Linked DNA regions of Homo sapiens: regions 1, 2 and 4 are each linked to region 3. The links are contacts of gene promoters, found by promoter capture Hi-C in blood cells and fetal thymus (Javierre and others, 2016). All regions are on one chromosome and are shown on one strand. Each heading gives the region's core, a stretch centred on a gene start or on the middle of the fragment in contact. The rest is flanking DNA. Distances are from core to core; before and after follow the strand shown.

Evidence for each region. Contacts are between HindIII fragments. The CHiCAGO score rates a contact against its expected background, and 5 or more counts as called.
Region 1: a contact is called between a fragment that was not itself captured here and the fragment with the promoter of CACNA1G in region 3, in 1 of 17 cell types (total CD4 T cells). The highest score is 5.3, in total CD4 T cells.
Region 2: a contact is called between a fragment that was not itself captured here and the fragment with the promoter of CACNA1G in region 3, in 6 of 17 cell types (M1 macrophages, M0 macrophages, non-activated CD4 T cells and 3 more). The highest score is 7.5, in M1 macrophages.
Region 4: a fragment that was not itself captured here is called in contact with the fragment with the promoter of CACNA1G in region 3 in 4 of 17 cell types (naive B cells, total B cells, naive CD8 T cells and 1 more); the score reaches 7.9 in naive B cells.

Annotation. Positions count from the first base shown.
Region 1 is chr17:50,859,695-50,864,690 of GRCh38, reverse strand. It overlaps TOB1 (transducer of ERBB2, 1), which reads left to right. Exons shown (of 2, transcript NM_005749.4): 2 at 528-2,468. The coding sequence starts at 674. The coding sequence ends at 1,711. Among named protein-coding and RNA genes, the nearest start is that of TOB1, 4.2 kb to the left of the region's middle. The HindIII fragment of the contact is 1,068 bases long and covers 733-1,800 here.
Region 2 is chr17:50,818,457-50,823,333 of GRCh38, reverse strand. No RefSeq gene overlaps it. Among named protein-coding and RNA genes, the nearest start is that of WFIKKN2, 15 kb to the left of the region's middle. RefSeq lists an enhancer at 3,985-4,044. The HindIII fragment of the contact is 4,047 bases long and covers 235-4,281 here.
Region 3 is chr17:50,557,087-50,561,964 of GRCh38, reverse strand. It overlaps CACNA1G (calcium voltage-gated channel subunit alpha1 G), which reads right to left and starts at 1,250. Exons shown (of 38, transcript NM_018896.5): 1 at 264-1,250. The coding sequence starts at 505. It overlaps CACNA1G-AS1 (CACNA1G antisense RNA 1), which reads left to right. Exons shown (of 2, transcript NR_038439.1): 1 at 1-37; 2 at 4,507-4,878. RefSeq lists enhancers at 1-291, 1,651-1,700 and a silencer at 1,051-1,430. The HindIII fragment of the contact is 9,044 bases long and covers 1-4,878 here.
Region 4 is chr17:50,969,939-50,975,147 of GRCh38, reverse strand. It overlaps SPAG9 (sperm associated antigen 9), which reads left to right. Exons shown (of 30, transcript NM_001130528.3): 28 at 201-377; 29 at 4,292-4,441. Among named protein-coding and RNA genes, the nearest start is that of TOB1-AS1, 110 kb to the right of the region's middle. The HindIII fragment of the contact is 1,984 bases long and covers 708-2,691 here.

The DNA of each region.
Region 1 (4,996 bases), core at 17-2,516, 300 kb before region 3:
AAAATGATCTTCCTAACGTAACCAAATTTTTAAATGTCAGTGACAGAGCAGATTTAAACAGTATATATCCAAAGTAAACTAAAACATGGATTCACTTCTAAGTTGGTGAATAACAATAAAAATTACTACCTAAAAGTGGCATCTATATATATGGGGGTGGGGGGAGGATGCTGAGTACAATAAATATTCTTGTGAGAACTGAGGAGAGAAGAATGCATGTTCTAGAGATTTTTCTTCTTAGAACTCTATTCAGAAACAGGTTTTTAAAAGCATTATTTCATTTGTAAATCTACATTTTCCTGTGTCATTTTAAACTTTAATAAACGATTTTCTATTTTATGTTTATTTTGTGCTAGTAACAGTTTTCAGGCTTTCTGTCCTAGTAGACATTTTCTTTTTCTTTTTATCCTTAGCAGACTAACACAGGATCTTAGACATTTTGAAAGGTGAAATTACTTTGGAGGGGGGAAGGTCATGGGACTTATATTACATTTATCTTATTTGGATATGTTTGCTTTTGTTTTAAGGAACAAGATCACTCAAGGTGAAGGATAATCTACTAATACCAGCACTTTGAATGAAAATTTGTTTCTCTGCCACAAACTGAACATCTTTTTTTTTTTTTTTTTTTTTTGGTGGGGGAGTTGAAACCTAATTTTGTGGCGTAGCAGCTATGCAGCTTGAAATCCAAGTAGCACTAAATTTTATTATTTCGTATTTGTACAATAAGCTTCCCAGGAGACGTGTCAACATTTTTGGTGAAGAACTTGAAAGACTTCTTAAGAAGAAATATGAAGGGCACTGGTATCCTGAAAAGCCATACAAAGGATCGGGGTTTAGATGTATACACATAGGGGAGAAAGTGGACCCAGTGATTGAACAAGCATCCAAAGAGAGTGGTTTGGACATTGATGATGTTCGTGGCAATCTGCCACAGGATCTTAGTGTTTGGATCGACCCATTTGAGGTTTCTTACCAAATTGGTGAAAAGGGACCAGTGAAGGTGCTTTACGTGGATGATAATAATGAAAATGGATGTGAGTTGGATAAGGAGATCAAAAACAGCTTTAACCCAGAGGCCCAGGTTTTTATGCCCATAAGTGACCCAGCCTCATCAGTGTCCAGCTCTCCATCGCCTCCTTTTGGTCACTCTGCTGCTGTAAGCCCTACCTTCATGCCCCGGTCCACTCAGCCTTTAACCTTTACCACTGCCACTTTTGCTGCCACCAAGTTCGGCTCTACCAAAATGAAGAATAGTGGCCGTAGCAACAAGGTTGCACGTACTTCTCCCATCAACCTCGGCTTGAATGTGAATGACCTCTTGAAGCAGAAAGCCATCTCTTCCTCAATGCACTCTCTGTATGGGCTTGGCTTGGGTAGCCAGCAGCAGCCACAGCAACAGCAGCAGCCAGCCCAGCCGCCACCGCCACCACCACCACCACAGCAGCAACAACAGCAGAAAACCTCTGCTCTTTCTCCTAATGCCAAGGAATTTATTTTTCCTAATATGCAGGGTCAAGGTAGTAGTACCAATGGAATGTTCCCAGGTGACAGCCCCCTTAACCTCAGTCCTCTCCAGTACAGTAATGCCTTTGATGTGTTTGCAGCCTATGGAGGCCTCAATGAGAAATCTTTTGTAGATGGCTTGAATTTTAGCTTAAATAACATGCAGTATTCTAACCAGCAATTCCAGCCTGTTATGGCTAACTAAAAAAAAGAAAATGTATCGTACAAGTTAAAATGCACGGGCCCAAGGGGGATTTTTTTTTTCACCTCCTTGAGAATTTTTTTTTTTAAGCTTATAGTAAGGATACATTCAAGCTTGGTTAAAAAAATAATAATAAAACATGCATCATTTTTCATTTGCCAACCAAGCACAAAGTTATTTTATACTGACTGTATATTTTAAAGTATACTCTCAGATATGGCCTCTTACAGTATTTAAGATATAGCAAGGACATGGCTGATTTTTTTTTATAAAAATTGGCACTAATAAGTGGGTTTATTGGTCTTTTCTAATTGTATAATTTAATTTAGTACAAAGTTTGTAAAATATCAGAGGATATATATATATTGTTTCTACGACATGGTATTGCATTTATATCTTTTTACTACAGTGATCTGTGACAGCAGCAGCTTCATGTTGTATTTTTTTTACTGAAATTGTAAAATATCCATCTTAAAGACATCAACTATTCTAAAAATTGTGTACAGGATATTCCTTTAGTGGTGGAATTAAAATGTACGAATACTTGCTTTTTCAAAAAAATGTATTTTCTGTTAAAAGTTTAAAGATTTTTGCTATATATTATGGAAGAAAAATGTAATCGTAAATATTAATTTTGTACCTATATTGTGCAATACTTGAAAAAAACGGTATAAAAGTATTTTGAGTCAGTGTCTTACATGTTAAGAGGGACTGAAATAGTTTATATTAAGTTTGTATTAAAATTCTTTAAAATTAAAAATGCCTATTGTCTTTGTTTTTAAGTGTTTTCTGAAGATCGACCTCTGGAGTTATTATGTTGTAAATGCTAATGATGGAAAAAGGCCTGACTCATTGAGTCACGAAGGAATAATGGAAAGCAGTTGCTCTACTGATGTACCAGATCGTGGTTTGCCACATAAAAAATGCTATCAAAACTATAGCCTGACCAGTGCTTGGTACAACTTTATTTTTTAACAGCCCTCTTCAGTCCACATTTGTCTACCCCATTATAGAGATGGTATGGTAAGGTTAGCTATACAGCAAGTTTCAAAATGTCATGCTGACATGGAGGAGTCAGGTGATAAGATGAAATTCCTTCGTGTAATCTGAGATGATTTATTTGAAATTTATATGGAGAGAGCATTGGATCAGTTTTCTGTTTTTGCTGAGGAAACTTGCTTGGACAAAACGGCTGACTGAACTTAGAAAAATTTACATCACTTTACTAATCTTTAAAGTTTAGCTATTGCATATAGCTAGAGAACTTATGGTCAAAATCTATTCACGGCTGGACAGATGGTTAGATGTTAGCATTTTCATTTTCCCAGCAAAAACGCTTATGTATTTAATTTTTTGCAAGTGGGTACCCAACCTGCTGGTTTGAAGGATTTAGAGATATTGACAATGTATCAAATTGGAGTGGCTTGGTGAGGATGGAGTTTTTTAAAACTGAAGAGTTGGGGAGAAGAACACTAAATGAGTCATTTCACTAAATGTCAATTGATACAGTATTGACATAGTATTGGTGAGAAAGTTAACGTCCATTTGATACAGTGTTGACATAGTATTGGTGAGAAAGCTGTCTTAAAAAACTTTATATGTACTTTTATAGTAAGAAACCAGCACTGCCTGGGTTACCAGTGAAATAAATTTGGTCTCATGAGCTTTTTGGACACCAGTCTACAAAAGCCTTTTGTCATTTACCCATGCAGTGTAGAGCAATACAAAGTTTTAAGGAAACAAGCACTGGAAATAACAGAGCTAAGCTGTTTGTCAGCTCCATGGTGAGGCTTTTGTTCTTTAGGGAACAGAACGAGGCTATGAAGAAGTATTGGAATAATGGGTGCAAGCAGCAGAGATCTGGTCTGCCAACACTTACCACTTACATGCTTTTGTGATCACGAAGTTTGAATAGCTGTAAGAACCATCAGGATAATGGCTTTAAGCACTAGTTTCTGCTACAGACTGATAAAGTTACATTTGGGAGAAAACTCTACTTATAAATGAAGGCTCAAGTGTAATGTGCTTTTTCTGAAAATCATAAGGCAGCTGGACGGAACATAATAGAATTTTTTTTTTTTTTGAGACGGAGTCTCTTGCTCTGTCACCCAGGCTGGAGTGCAGTGGCACCATCTCGGCTCACTGCAACCTTCCACCTCCCAGGTTCAAGTGATTCTCCTGCCTCAACTTCCCGAGTAGCTGAGACTACAGGCGCCCGCCACCATGTTGGCTAATTTTTGTATTTTTAGTAGAGACGGGGTTTCACCATGTTGACCAGGCTGGTCTCGAACTCCTGGCCTCAAATGAGCTGCCTGCCTTGGCTTCCCAAAGTGCTCTGATTACAGGCATGAGCCATTGCGCCTGGTCAACAATAGAATTTGAAACTGTCTGGAGCACTAATATATTCATTTTATTTTGAGACAAGGTCTCACTCTGTCACCCAGGCTGGAGTGCAAAGGGGCCATCTTGGCTTACTGCAACCTCCACTAAAGCGATTCTCCTGTCTCACTCTCCTGAATAGCTGGGATTATAGCTGCGTGCCACCGTTCCCTGCTAATTTTTGTATTTTTTGTAGAGGCAGGGTTTCGCCACGTTGCCTGGGCTGGTCTCAAACTCCTGAACTAAGGTGATCCGCCCGCATTGGCCTCCCAAAATGCTGAGATTACAGGCGTGAGCCACCACACCCAGCCAAGCACTAATATATTCAGATTTTAAATACTGAGGTTAACATAAGCCTGAATATCTGTTTCAGATCTTAAGGATATATGTATCGACAAAAATCTTAGGGAAATTTCATCTTGGTACATATGTTTGACATCGGAGAATGACTAACTCAAAATGTGATCTTGATTGGTTTTATTAAAACTTGAGCTTGGTGTCCTTGAGAACTTCATCTTTTTTTTTTTTTAGACAGAGTCTCGCTCTGTTGCCAGGCTGGAGTGCAGTGGTGAAATCTTGGCTCCCTGCAACCTCCGCCTGTCGGGTTCAAGTGATTCTCCTGCCTCAACCTCCCAAGTAGCTGGGACTACAGACGCGCGCCACCACGCCCAGCTAATTTTTATAGTTTTAGTAGAGACGAGACGGGGTTGGCCAGAATGGTCTCGATCGCCTGATCTCATGATCCTCCCGCTTTGGCCTCCCAAAATGCTGGGATTACAGGTGCGAGCCAACGCATCCAGCGAGGACTTCATAATTTTTTAAAAAATGAACAAAGGCCCTGTTTACATGCCCTTTTTGTTCATTAGGAATGGGAATTTTTTAAAAGGTGCTTTTGCCTAGCACATCTGA
Region 2 (4,877 bases), core at 1,009-3,508, 260 kb before region 3:
AGTAAGCAATTATGGATAAGCCCTGGGAGTGTTCCTATGGGAAGATCTTCCAAATGCAGCCTGAGGCTCTCATCTCTGGTTCAACTGTGCCAAATGAGGCATCCTGGTGGATTAAAGATGGCCACAAATTCTTTGCCGCTCCCTCAGTAGAGAGATGGGCTTTCCTTCAACCTGGCTGGTCCTATTGACTTTGGCCAACAGAATGTAACAGAAGTATAACTTCCAAGTCAAGCTTTAAAGATCATGACTTCCACATTTGCCCCTCTTTGAAGGTTTCCTTTAGAAGCCAGCACTGTGTAAGAAGTCCAGCTACCCTAAGACCACCATGTCATGAGGAAGTCCCAGCTAGCCACGTAGACAGAAATACTTAGTGGATCCATGAAGGGGCACCAAGATACCAGACAAGTGAATGCATTTTCTTGGACCTTCCAGCCTAGCCCAGCTACCAGCTATGTAGTTAAATGAATGATTCCTATAAGGTAGTTGAATGAATGATCCCTAATATTTTTGCCATTAAAAGTAATGGCAAAAACCACAATTACTTTTGCACCAACCTAACATCACATAGAGCAGAAGAACAGCCCAGCTGAACTCTGCCCAAACTTCGGATCCATAGGATCATGAGCAAATAAAATGTTTTATACACTAACTTTTGGGATAGTTTGTTACAGAGCAATATACAGGCTGGATGCAGTGGCTCACGCCTGCAATCCCAACACTTTGAGAGGTCAAGGCAGGAGGATCACTTGAGCCCAGAGTTTGAGACCAGCCTGGGCAACATAGCGAAACCCTTGTCTCTACAAAAAAAAATAATAAATAAAAATAAAAATAAAATTCTTTTAAATTTATTTAAAAACAAAAAATAAAATGTAGAGCAATATACAAATGGAATAGACATGAGGGAACTGTGGTGGAAACCAGTTTCAGCTGCTCAGCTTCACTGCTCATGACGAATCAGGAGGCAGAGACAAGAATCCTGCCAGAATTCTCTTTAGGATATAAGATAGAACATCTGGGGCTCTTCTCAAAGCCTGTGCCCTTAGCAATGCTCATGACAGGGGTCTTGAGTGTGGGCTTAGAGGAAAGCACCATCAGTAGCCTCTAAGCAAACAGACCATGATTATGATCCAGACCATAATGTTGGCTGGAGTAGACTTCAAATATGTGGCCAGCTCAGATTCTAGGGGAACAGCATTAGAGGGTAAAAGCCCTATTTCCCATTAAAAGCAAGGTCAGGTAAGGGCTTCTAGAAGAAGTGACATCAATACTGAGACCTGAAGGATAAATCATAGTTAGCTGGACAAAGAGGGGACAGTATATGCAAAGGCTGTGAGATGGGAGGTGGCACAGAGCATTGGAGGAACTGGAAGACAGCCAGGGTGGCTGGAGAGGAGGGAGTCCACACAAGTCCAAGTGGGACTCAGAGGGTAGAATCTCTCACCCATGCCTACACCACCACCAGGAAGGAGGCTTTGATTTTTGCCTTCTATTTCAGAAAGGCTTGCTTTGCACTTTGAACTCTGTTTTGGGTTGATCTTGGGAGTGGCGATTTGAGGGAAACAACAAAACAGTATGTAGCTAAGTGAAGAGGTAGACCACAGAAAATATATATTAGTCACTGCTCTAGCTTGCAGCAAGCAGACTGAAAGTCTCACAGGAGGCTGGGCGTGGTGGCTCACGCCTGTAATCCCAGCATTTTGGGAGGCCAAGGTGGGCGGATCATGAGGTCAGGAGTTTGAGACCAGCCTGGCAATATGGTGAAACCCTGTCTCTACTAATATACAAAAATTAGCCAGGTGTGGTGGCGAGCACCTGTAGTCCCAGCTACTCAGGAGGCTGAGGCAGGAGAATCGCTTGAACTTGGGAGGCAGGAGTTGCAGTGAGCCGAGATCGCGCCACTGCACTCCAGCCTGGGCGACAGAGTGAGACTCCGTCTCAAAAAAAAAAAAAAAAAAAGTCTCACGGGAAAGGTTCCTTTGTCCCCCTCAGATGGTGTGCGATGGGGGTATGGCTCGCTTCTTCAGTGCCCTGCTGCTCAAACTTCTAGGGGAACATACAGATGGGCAGGCTGTGGGGCTCTGACCCCACGGCAGTGTCAAGGGGTGAATGTTTACAGCTGAAGCTCCAGTGAGCGTGTGTTACAGGGTGCTCTTTCAGTTTTGCCATCTGTAGGCAGCTTGGGTTAGTCAGCTCAATTAGACCCACTACTTTGTCACTAGGACAGAGGGTTTTCTGTATCCCAGGGTTTCTTGCCTTGGTGTACCAGAAGAATCAGATCACACGTGGGCTTGGAGAATGAGTGCAAGGTTTTATTGAGTGGAAGTAGCTCTCAGCAGATGGGGGAGCCAGAAGGGAGATGGTTTTCCTCTGGAGTTGGGCCGCTTGGTGTCCCAGGCTCTCCTCCAACTGCCCCAGCCAAACTCTGCGTCCTTCTGCTGGTCAGTGGCCTGCTGGCATGCCGATGCCGGTGCCAGTGCGTTCCTCTTGACATCCAGCCGCCTGTGTGTCCCACCGCCAATATACTCCTCTAGATGTCCAGCCGCTTCTGTCTCTGCCCTGCTAGGGTCTCGGGTTTTTATAGGCACAGGATGGGGGTGTGGCAGGACAGGGTGGTCTTGGGAAATGCAACATTTGGGTGCAAAAGCAGGAGTGCCTGTCCTAACCTAGGTCCACGAGGGTGGAGCCCTCGCCAGGGAGCACAACCTTCCTCTACCCAACATTTCCCTTGCGCTGTTCCGTATCATTTAAAGGGACCACGCTCTTCCCTTCCCAGCGTTTCCATATCAAAAGCAGAAGAACCCATGACTGTCCGCATTTGGGCCAAGTGAGCATGAAATAGTTGAGGGATAGAAAGCTACTGCACATTTCATGGTGGAATGATTGGGGGCACTGCTGGGTACAGAGGATGGGCAGAAAATGGGCCAGGCTCATTCATCGGGAGCCACCAGGAGGACTTTCTGCCAGTGAGGAGCCGGGGGGAAGGCGCTTCTCTCCCTAAGTCCAGCAGTCAGACACCATGGTAGATGGCAGGAGAGGTGCTTCCCAAAGTTTGGAGAGGCTCTGTTCCTAACTCTGAGTCAGCAGAAGGAAAACAGGAGGGAATTGGAGGATAAAGAGGGGGCCCATGCAAGGGAGCCAGCCCCTTTGTGCCTGCAGGGCACAGGGCAGGTACAACCTGCCCACTGTGGCCTCAGGTACATGAGGATCAGAAAGGCAAAGACCCCACCACTGAGGGTAGAAGGTGTTAGGGTGCTGGAGTGAGGGCTCAATGCCCGAGTATCCCCTTCCCTCTGGGGTTTCTCAGGGAGGGAGTCATCTTGGTGCCTGAGCCCTGCCCCCAATGCAGAGACCCTTAGTATAGTAGACCCTGATGAACCCTGGGGCTTAGGCTTAGGCCAGGCTTCAACCTTCCAGCTTCCTTCCCCAAGGGTCCTGCCACAGGTGGAGAAGATGGGCCAGAAAGAAAGGGTGGCCAGCCCCTACACTCCCCCAGCTAACTCATCACTGGGACAGTGCCTCCAGGTCTGGCTGCCACGAGGGAGACGTGAAAGAAAGAGAGGACGTAGAGAGAGGCCTCTATCAAGGCCACGTGCCTCTGAAAATCCAGTCACCGCATTCATGAGTAAATTCTGAGTGATGGATGTTCTTGACCCCCACCAAGTAAAATGAGCCACCCTGCCCCCACCACACCCTCTCCACCTTCCACCCTGTTACAACTGAGGAGGTGTCCCTCCTATTTAAGGTCAATGCTGCCAACAATGTGTTGGATCCCAACACTTCCCTTTCTTTCCACCTCCTTAGGAACTTTATACCATCAATTACGCCTTCTGTCTCCCAAATACCTGCCACCTTTATACACATTCATGTCTCTCTTATCCTCAACAGATCATTACATCATTCCTTCCACCCCGTATTCCCCCTCCATGAACAGCCCTGCCTCTTTCTACCTTCCAAGTCAGTCCGCATCCTGGCTCCATTTTCTCACCTCCCAAGTCCCTGAACTCATTCTCCTGAACTCTGTGATCCAGCCTCCCACACGTTACTTTGCTGACAAGCCTGCTGCTAAAGTCACCTGCTGCTAAAGTCACCTGCTGCTAGTGACTACCATGGCCCTAAATGACACAACCAGTCCTCGTTTTCTTGCCTTTCTGCAGCTTGTGACCTGTTGACCACATCCTCCTTCCTGACCACTCTCCCCCTACATCTGTGTTGTGACCTTTTTTCTCCTGGCTTTCTACCCACTTCCCTGGTAGCTTCTTCTTCATCTCCTTTACAGAAGCTTCCCCTTCCACCCAGACATTGCACCCTAGCCCCAAACAGTTAATATATCAGTTGCCAGAGTGGTTGCCATGTGTGGTAGATTTAAGAAGCTCCTAGGTGGCCAGGCGTGTAGTGACTCATGCCTGTAATCCCAGCACTTTGGGAGGCCAAGGTGGGTGGATCACTTGAGGTCAGGAGTTCGAGACCAGCCTGGCCAACATGGTGAAATGCCATCTCCACTAAAAATAACAAAAATTAGCCAGGTGTGGTGGCACATGACTGTAATCCCAGCTACTCGGGAGGCTGAGGCAGGAGAATCGCTTGAACCCAAGAGGCAGAGGTTACAGTGAGCCGAGATCATGCCACTGTACTCCAGCCTGGGCGACAGAACAAGACTCCGTCTCAAAAAAAATAATAAAAATAAAAATAAAAAATTAAAAAAAAACTCCCAGGTGATTTTTACTTGCAGCCAGGGTTTCGAGCCACTGCCTTCAAAGTTGTATCTGCAGCTCCTGGAACACCGAAAGACAACTCTGTTCCCCAGAAGGCATCCACCCAGATCCAGTGATTCCTTCTCCATTTGCATATGAGCCATTCCGGAGACTGACACAGAAGTT
Region 3 (4,878 bases), core at 1-2,500:
GCCTGGATCCCCACCCCCCCAACCCAGGAAGACTGAGGTGTGTGTACGCAGGTGGGGTAAGCCCGGGTTACCGACGAGACCTGCTCGCGTCTCCGCTCCCACTCTGGTGCCCCCTCCCCTCCCTGGCAGCCCCCCCCCCATCCGCCTACCCTCCGGGCTCACTTCGACTCACCTGGCGGTGGGTCTTCTTCCCCCCCGACCCCCGGCGGTGCGGCCCGTCCCCCTTCTGACCCCGCGCCTGGCCGTCGTGCCCCGAAGGATATGGGTTACAGACCGTGCGGAGACACCAGCTCCGCGGGCGGCTGTCCTGGCTCAAGTAGAAGAAAACCACCGGGGCCAGCGCCGGGTACGGCAGCCCCTCCGCCTCGGAGTCCGCGCTGCCCGGGTCCTTTTCTGCTGACCCCGGCCCCGGCCGGCCCCCGGCCCCCGACAGGTCGTTGAGCCGCATGAAGCTCCGGGGCTGTCCCGACTCCTCGGCGCCCGCTCCATCCTCCTCCTCGTCCATCCTCTGGCCAGCCGGGGCCCCGGGCGATCCGGAGAGGGGCAAGCGGCGCCCCTCAGAGGAGGTGTCCTCACGCAACCCGGGGGCCCCGGCGGGGGCACATCTGGTGGGCTCTAGGGCGCAAGCTGAGCCCCCGGGAGGGCCAGTTCAGCCCAGCTCCCCCTGCCCGCAGGGGCATGCTGCCCGCGGGGCGCCGGGGCGCAGGGAAACCCCGCCCGGCGCGAGTCCCGCTTCCCCTGCGCCCCTGGGGCTTCCCGGGCCAGCCGGCCGGCTCCCCCTCACTTTGTTCCGGCTTCTTCGCTTCGCGCCCAGGCTCCGGTTGCCGGATTCGGCGCTACCTTCGGCGAAGCCGCCCCGAGAGGGCGAACGAAAAGGGGGGCAGCGGCGGAGGGCGGGGGTCCGGGGAGGGGCGCCCCCTCTTCCCGCGGCGCAGCTGGAGCCGGATCTAAGGGGTCAGCATCGTCCCGGCTCCGCGCCAGGCGGCGGGGGAGGGGAGGAGGGATCTCTTTAGGGGTGGGCTTGGAGGGGGTGGGGGCGGCTCCTTCCCCCGCCCCGCCGCGGGCTCACTGTCCGGGAGGGGCGGGGAGACAGTGGGGGGCAGTCCCGGGCGGGAGTGGAGGCGGAGATGCCGCCGCCGCAGCCGCCGCGGTGGCTGCCGCTGCCGTAGCTGTCGCCGGCGCCACAGCCTCCTCCTCCGGCCGAGACGCGGAGCGAGCGAGCGAAAGCGGCGGCGAGGAGCCCCGCGCACACCACAGCTGGATCCCTCACTTCAACTTCAAGCCTCGGCCCCGCCCCCAGACAGCCCCGCAGCCAATCGCCGGACGCCGCCGGCCCCGAGCCGCGCGCCCATTGGCCGTCCGCCGTGGCAGTGCGGGCGGGAGCGCAGGGAGAGAACCACAGCTGGAATCCGATTCCCACCCCAAAACCCAGGACCGCCCCTCTCCCCTCCCCTTGCCCCTGGGTCCGCTCCCGAAGGCTGGAGCCAATCAGACTGCTGCCCAGACCGAACCCACTTTCCTATTGGCCATTGGGGTCTTTGGGACTCCCTTGGAGGGAGCCCGAAGAATCAGAGTATTCGGCGCGGGGTCCTGGCGTAGGGCCGCAGGCCCCAGGCATCCTTTGTCCACGACCCCTGATTTGGGCAGCAGCCGGAGGACGGAGCTCAGCTCTGGGCGGGCCTGGGGAAGAAAGGAGACAGGCGGCACGGGGGTGAGGGTTGTCACCAGGGGGTCCCAGAGCGAAATCCCAGGTCTCCACCTGGTTAATCTCCCACCCTGGAGTTGAGCTTGGCTGCGGGACTGGGGGAGGGAAGGAGCGGAGCTGGATGTCCTGGGGGTGGGGCTTCAGGCTGGAGGGGCCCAGTCTTGGAGAAACGGGCGGAGCTCGAGAAAGGCTAGGGTAGGCATGGTCTGGGCGTGGCCTCCACAAATCTCTTGGGCTTATTGGTCATACTCCCGAGTCAATTCTGAGACTTCGACCCTGACCTCGTAACCCTAACCCGCTGGACCTGACCTCACATTGACGCTCCTGGGCTTCATCCCTTTGCCCCTAGGGACCTTTTGAAGGGCGTGGACTCCACGCAGGGGCTTCGTGCTTGAACACGTGGCCCCAGGCAGGTCGCGCTGGACCGCAGAGCCCGGATCCCCAGGAGGGGCTGCGGAGCAGAGCGAGGACCCCTAAGAAGGAACCTGTGGGGGTCTCGAGTGTGTGGGAGGGGGCGGAAGCACAGAGCTGGGCTTTATCGACTCGACCTTCAAAGTCCCCACCACCGCCACCCCCCAACTTCGTGCCTCAGTTTCTCTTAAGTCCCTATGTGGCTTAGGGAAAGAGTGTCCGCGGAACTGGAACTTCGCGGGTCTGCCGCCTTCACTCACTCACCTTAACCCTACCGGCAGCGGGCCCTCGTGGGTTTGTGCTTTCCACGCGTGCACACGCACGCGCAGACCCCGGCCCTTGCCCCGCCTACCTCCCCGAGTTCTGGGGCTCAGTCGGCTCTAGCTCTCTCCTGCCGCCGGCGCCACTCCAGAAAGCTGTGGGTACCCGGGAGCGGAGCGCCGCGGGTGTGCTGGGCGCCGGTGGAGGGGGGAACAGCGAGGATTAGACGCCGGGAAGCACTTCCCCAACATCTGCGAGAGGTAGACACGGCGGAACCTAGTGGGTCAGTCAGTTCCCTCTCCGGAGATTTTGGGGCGCTTGCGCCACTGCGGAGAGGCGGCGGGATGGGTCGGATGACCTCCATCACCACCCCTCACTTTGCTGAGGCCATCACCCCTGGGCGTTGTTCACTCTCCTAAGGCTGCACCACCCACGCAGCCCCCGCGCACCTCCCGCCACCGCAGAGGGTTGGGGTCGTCTCAGTTCCCGCCCCGGCCGATGGGGGGAGGGGATGGGGGAAGTGGCAGAGTGGCTGCTGCGCCGTCGTCTCCCTGGTTGCCCTTTCGCCGAATCCATGCACAGAGTTGTGTAAATGAGGCCGGGCGGGCTCATTTGCATTTCATGCTAATGAGCAGATCCCCTAAGTGCCTTTTTTTCCTGGCGGGAGTCTCTGCTCTCATTCTGAGTATGCGGCGCCTGAGTCTTGAACCCCGTGCCGTCTTCTGGGAAAGGGGGGCTATTTATGGTTGCTCCGCGCGTCTGACACCTTCTTCCCTCCCGAGAGGCCGCAGTCTGCCGGGTCGGCCTGCCCTTCCCGCCAGGATAGAGGCCCCGGGGCTGGCGCGAGAAGTAGGGACGCCCAACACCCCTTCTTTGCAGAGGGGAAAATGAGGACAGAGAGGCTGGCCCAGCCCAATGATCAGGTCCCCTGGTGGTCAGCAGGCCCCACACCCTCATCCATCATCCCGGCCACCCCTGGGCTCTGGACTGAACTCTGTTCTAGAACATGCCCGAAAGGAGGGCAGGCACAAACGCACCATCTAGATAAATTGAGATCCACATGCACTTCCCTGGGTTCAGGACCTAGGGGAGACCGGCCACGCAAGACAGGATCTGATCCCTGTACTCGGCATGTTGGGGCTGATGGCCAGTCGGAGATGCTTACCCTTAGCCTGAGTGCCAGAGAGGAGGCAGAGGCAGAACCTACAGGGAAGGCAAAGAAGACCTGAAACCATCTTTATTTAACTCCAGCCCTCCAAGCCTCAGCTCTGACATCACCTCCTCAGAGTGGCCTTCTTTCCAGCAAGTATTTCAATGCCACTTAAGTGCCAAGGTGCTTAGGATACAGCACCGAGCCAGACACAAGTCTGGAACTTCACAGCACTTAGCCCAGGCTGGGATTATATGTTTGTGTTTGCAGTAATGAAATGATCATCTCCCTATCTAGGCTCTGTGTTCCCAGAGGGGCTATGTTCATTTTGCTCACTAGGGCCTTGTCTAGTGTCGGGCACAAAGTTGTTAGGTGAATGAATGACCTCAGGCAGGGAAAGGGAAACAAAGGGACAAGAAATTCCTTTCTTTGGGCCTCAGTTTCTCAACAAAGACACTAAGCCTAACTAAGAGTTTTTCTGGGTTTGAGGAAGAACCCCCCCCATATATACCCTGCTCAGCCAGCCCCTCCAGCCCCCTCCAGCCCTGCCTTTACCCCTCCCTCACAGCCCATCTGGCTCCCTGCGGAGCTAAGATAATCTTCCCATCTGTGATACCCTTTGCTCAGGGATGATACAACCATTATCCCATTTAGTCACCTTAACAGCCCTGAGAGCTGGGTGGATGGCCCCCCACCTTTCAGATAAGGAAGGGGGGTGCTCAGAATGATGAAGTTACTTAAGTGACTGCCCAGACGGTATGGCCCTGTCTCCAGTGACCCTGGCCCGCAGGTGTTCCGCTGGTAGAACAGGGTGCACACTCAAGAGGGACCAGCAAAGGGGAAGGGATGCTGCAGGAACTCTTATAATCCTGCTTCTGAGTGAGATTTATGTGGGACCCTGCCCCCTTTAGAAATTCGAGCACTCCTGGGAGAACTAACCCTTTAAGGAGGTAACTCCTTCTTCCCAACCCATTTACAGAATCCCATCATCGCGTGCACATCTCATCCCAGGAGGGAGAGAGGAGCTGCCGAGTAGAAAGCAGACTGGCTGCAGGGACAGAAGACACCAAGGGCACCCTCCCCCACAGCTGCGCCTGGACCTCCTGCGAGAAGAGGAAGCCTTAGGGGTCTTTATTGTACCCTCAAGACCCCAGAGAGAAACAGAAGTGCTGAGGGGTCGCAGGCAGGTCTCTTACCCTCTCTGGGCCTCGAATATTTATCCATAGGAGGCTGAAGGTAACTGCCTTCGCAACTCATTCATGAGGGTCAATGGGACGACAGTGGCAAGAGGGGTTGGCACACTGCCCAGACTGTTCCAAAGCCAGGGCTGGGGCTGCCAAAAAGGCCACCT
Region 4 (5,209 bases), core at 450-2,949, 410 kb before region 3:
CATTTACTGAGGTACTTAAAAATAACTAGCATGCTGTATCTCTTTTTTTCCCAGCTTTGTCTTGAATTGGCATTGCCATCCTTGTTTTATCTCAACTGGCTGTAGCTTTTAGATAATATCATAAGGATTAACCAGTAACCTCTTACATTCATTACTGTTTTCTAGGGGAAAATATTTGGTATTTGGTTTTTCTGTTGCAGCAAATAAAACCTCAGGTGTACCAGGAAATCGTCCTGGAAGTGTAATCCGTGTATATGGTGATGAAAACAGTGATAAAGTGACTCCAGGGACATTTATACCCTATTGTTCAATGGCACATGCACAGCTTTGCTTCCATGGGCACCGGGATGCTGTGAAATTCTTTGTGGCAGTCCCAGGTATGTTAGATTATTCTGTTGAGATGTTCCATGTAATTGTCTCTCTTCTGTCATCTCTTGGTTCCACTACCTAATAGTCTAAGGCTAAGTACTCGAATTGCAGGTAATTTCAATATATACGAAGGAAGTTCTGTAATGGAGGTGTGACTAAGGTGCTATAGGGATACTTGAATGAAGTTACTTTGGAATATCTCTCCCACCCCCAAAGATAAATTTGTTGATTTTTCTTTAGGAGACTTGCTTACTTTTGAAAAGCAGTAGTATTATTTTATCATCGTGGATTGCCAAAAATGGTCTTGACCTAATAAGAGAAATCACTAGAAAGAAGCTTCTATCATCAAGGCTGCATGGAGGAAGAGAGAATGCACTCTGGTACCTTTAGCAGCTTAATAGGAAAAAGCAGTGAACTAGGAGGCCTGGGGGTCTGGCCCCTGTGTCTCTGCCACTAACCTCGAGCAAGGCACTTAACCTCAGAGACTCATTTCCTCACTCCTAGGTGGATGTGATTAATATCTGCTCTGCCTACTTCATTTGTTATGAAAATTAATGAAAATGCTACTGGGAGCTATAAAGCACCACCCAGAAAAAAGATGGAAGTGATGATGTCCAGTGAAAAATGACAAATTATCCATTGACAATACTTAAGTGATGTCACTGACCATCTGTAAGCAGGACACAGGTTTTGAATTTTTTTTTCCCATAAGAGGCAAGTTTAGGAGCTAGACGAAGTTCAGATCTGACTTTCCCCCACCAACTAACTGTGTGATGTAGTATATTAGTCAGGGTTCTTCAGAGAAACAGAACCAATAGGATGCATGTGTATGTGCGTATGAAGAGAGAGTTACTGTTAAGAAATTGGGTCACACAGTTGTGGGGACTAGCAGGTCTGAAATCTGCAGGGCAGGCTGGCAGGCTGGAGACCCCGGGAAGAGTGGATGTTGCAGTCCAAATCTGAAAGCAGTCTGGAGGCAACATTTCTCTTTCCTCTGGATCCCTCAGTCTTTTTCTTCTAAGGCTTTCAACTGGTTAAATGAGGCCCACCCACACTGTGGCGTGTAATCTGCTTTACTCAAAGTCTGTTGTTTTAAATGTTAATCACATCTAAAAAAGACTTACAATGATATCTAGACTGGTGTTTGACCAAATATCTGGGTATCGAGCTAACACGTCAAATTACTCATCATACTTATTTTCCCAAGGGTCTTCCAAAGATTAAATGATTTTATGTACATGGGGCAAGGGCTGGCATATGGTACCCTAAGCAATTATTCAGTTATTCTTAACAACAGTGATAATGAGCTTTCTGAAACCTCATTTGTACATTTTATATATTTGTATAGTCATTTCCTTCCTAGAAATGGGATTGCTGGTAACAGTGTTTCTCTTGCTTAAAAAAAAATGAAATATCACAGTTTCCTTTAAATCTCCTTTGTATCCCTCTCCAATCCCATTCTCCTCTCCTTTTCCTCTCCATTGGTAACCACTATCTTGAAGTCGATGCAAATCCTCTTGCCCCTGTTTTTGTATTTTTACTATGTTTGAATGTGTTTATAAACAATGTATGATTGTTTTGTGGTTTTGGACTTTACATGTTAAATGTTGTGTTTTATATGTATGCTTCTACAACTTGCTTCTCATTTTTTGAGATTTATCAATGTTCATACATAAAAATCTAGTTTATTCATTTAACTGGTATTATAACTGAATAAAAGTGCTACATTTTATTCATTCTTCTGTTGATGGACCTCTAGGCTTCTCCCCTTTCTTTTTTCACTATTAAAAACAATACTGAAGCAGACCTTCTTGTGTGCATGTGTAAGGATTTTTTGTTGGGTATAAATCTAAAAGTGGAATTAGCAACATGGTTGTTGCGAGGCCAGTTGGCCCTAAAGATTAAACCATTCTGGTTGGCCTTATCAGTAATACCACTGTGCTCTTGCTTCTGTGGCAGAACTAACTCGTCTACCAACAGAAGTCATTGCTGGCATGCTTGATTTCTTCCAAAGTATAATTGAGTAATGCATGAATGAATCCCTGTGGGGATACGTCAGACTATCCTATCCACTTTCAACATACATTAATTTTGTTACAGTGTGTCGCATTAATGGCTGTCCAGCTAGCTCCTGGAGGCGCAGTCTGTGTAGTTTGACCAAAGGACAGCAGATTCTGACAAGGAAAAAAATATCCCACAATTAAATCTTGCTAAGAGGGTTGGCTTAGAGATTGCTCATTTGTTCATAGTTGTGAATAATATTTAAAGGTTTCTCTCTTTCTATTATTTCACACTCAAGGATTCTACCTTAGAACTTAAGCTTTAGAACAAACAGCACATTTACTAGTAATTTTGTTTGCATAATCTAAATTAAAAATAACCTGTATTTTCCTTAAATATGAGAGGAAAGCCATAGATTTGAAATAAATTTAAATGTTAATTATGACTATGCAAACTCATAGGGCTTAAGTTGAAGACTTTTCTCAGTCTCTTACACAAATAAGCACATTCCTTTTCAAGGGAGAGACCTTTTCCACTGTCTTCTCAGATCAAAAGATTTAGACTATAATAGTTTGAAGCAGGTAGGCTGTGCATGGTGGCTCACACCTGTAATTCCACAACTTGGAAATCAAGGCAGGAGGATCACTTGAGCCCAGGAGTTTGAGACCAGCCTGGGCAAACATAGCAAGACTTCATTAAAAATTTTTAAGAGACCAGGCACAGTGTCTCATGCCTGTAATCCCAGCACTTTGGGAGGCCTAGGTGGGTGGATCACTTGAGGTCAGGAGTTTGAGACCAGCCTGACCAACTTGGTGAAACCCCATCTCTACTAAAATACAAAAATTAGCCGGGCGTTGTGGCAGGCACCTGTAATCGCAACTACTTGGGAGGCTGAGGCAAGAGAATTGTTTGAACCCCAGAGGCGAAGGTTGCAGTGAGCCGAGATCGCGCCATTGCACTCTAACCTGGGCCACAAGAGCGAAACTCTGTCTCAAAAATAAATAAATAAAGTAATTTGGGCCAGGTGCAGTGGCTCATGCCTGTATTCCCAGCACTTTGGGAGGCCGAGGCAGGCAGATCATGAGGTCAGGAGATTGAGACCATCCTGGCTAACACGGTGAAACCCTGTCTCTACTGAAAAAGTTAGCCGGGCATGGTGGCACGTGCCTGTAGTCCCAGCCACTCAGGAGGCTGAGGCAGGTAAATCGCTTGAACCCGGGAGGCGGAGGTTGCAGTGAGCCAAGATTGTGCCACTGCACTCCAGCCTGGGCGACAGAGCAAGACTCCATCTCAAAAAAAAAAAAAAAAAAAAAAAAAAGGTAGTTTGAAGCAGGCAGCTAAGACCCACCTTGCCATGCATATATCTCATATTGGATTTGGGGCCTATTCCTGCTTTGTTACAAAATTGCTTTACTTAGATTTTCAAATTGGGTTTTGTTTGTTTGTTTGTTTGTTTGTTTGTTTGTTTTTTAGAAGCAAGGTCTTGCTCTGTTGCCTAGGCTGGAGTACAGTGGCGCATCACAGCTCACTGCAACACTGAACTCCTGGGCTCAAGTGATCTTTCTGCCTCAACCTCCCAAGAAGCCAGGATTACAGGCGCATACCACCATTCCCGGCTAACTTTTTTGGTAGAGATGAGGCCTTACTATATTTGCCAGGCTGGTCCCAATCTCCTGGCCTCAAGTGATTCTCCCACTTCGGCCTCTCGAAGGTGTGAGCCACCATGCCTGACCTCAAATCGGGTTCTTAAAACCTTCATGTAAATGTTTTCTGATCATGCAGAGCCTTCTAGCTTCCCCAGTATTTGGTTATTAGAATATATTTACCTTTTTGTTTAACTCTAAAAATACTTAAAAAAAAAAAACAAAACAGCCTCCCTTCTGTGATAAGTAATATTCACTTTTGTTTCTGTATAAAACAGGTCAAGTCATCAGCCCACAAAGTAGCAGTAGTGGCACGGATCTGACGGGTGACAAAGCAGGGCCATCTGCACAGGAGCCTGGTAGTCAGACGCCCTTGAAGTCTATGCTTGTCATCAGTGGAGGAGAGGGCTACATCGACTTCCGAATGGGTATGTCATTGGTTCTGGGTGCTCAGTTTGCACTGTGTGCTATGACTTGGGTTTTGTCCCAAAGTAAATAAGAAACCACTCTGATAATGATTTATAAGAGGTTCTCTTTGAGCTCTTTACACACGAAAGGATTTTGTGGGTTTTTGTTTTTTGTTTTTTTCTTTTTGGTATTTCTTTCTTTTTTTTTTTTTTTTGAGATGACGTCTCACTCTGTCACCCAGGCTGGAGTGCAGTGGCATGATCTCAGCTCACTGCAATCTCTGCCTCCAGGTTCAAGTGATTCTCCTGCTTCAGCCCCCCAGGTAGCTAGAATTACAGACATGCACCACCACATCTGGCTAGTTTCTGTATTTTCAGTAGAGACAAGGTTTCACCATGTTGGCCAGGCTATTCTCAAACTCCTGACCTCAAGTGATCCGCCTGCCTCGGCCTTCCAGCTGGGATTACAAGCCCGAGCCACCGCACCCGGCCCTTGGTATTTCTTTTCATACCAAAATGTATTTGTTTGAAAGGAGCATTAGAAATAGCAGGATGTGGTCAATGTGAAGTTTTATGTGAAAAGCATAGGATTTAGGGTCAGAAGGCCTTGGACAAGTCATTCAACCTCTTAGAGCCTCGGTTTTCTGTCAAAATGGAGAAATAAAAATATTTCTTAAACAACTTCATTTGTTCATTTTCTCACCTAACAAACATTAATTGAGCACCTACTGTGTACCTGTCATTCTTAAACTGGAGATACAGAAACAAATCAGACAAAGCCTTCGTCTA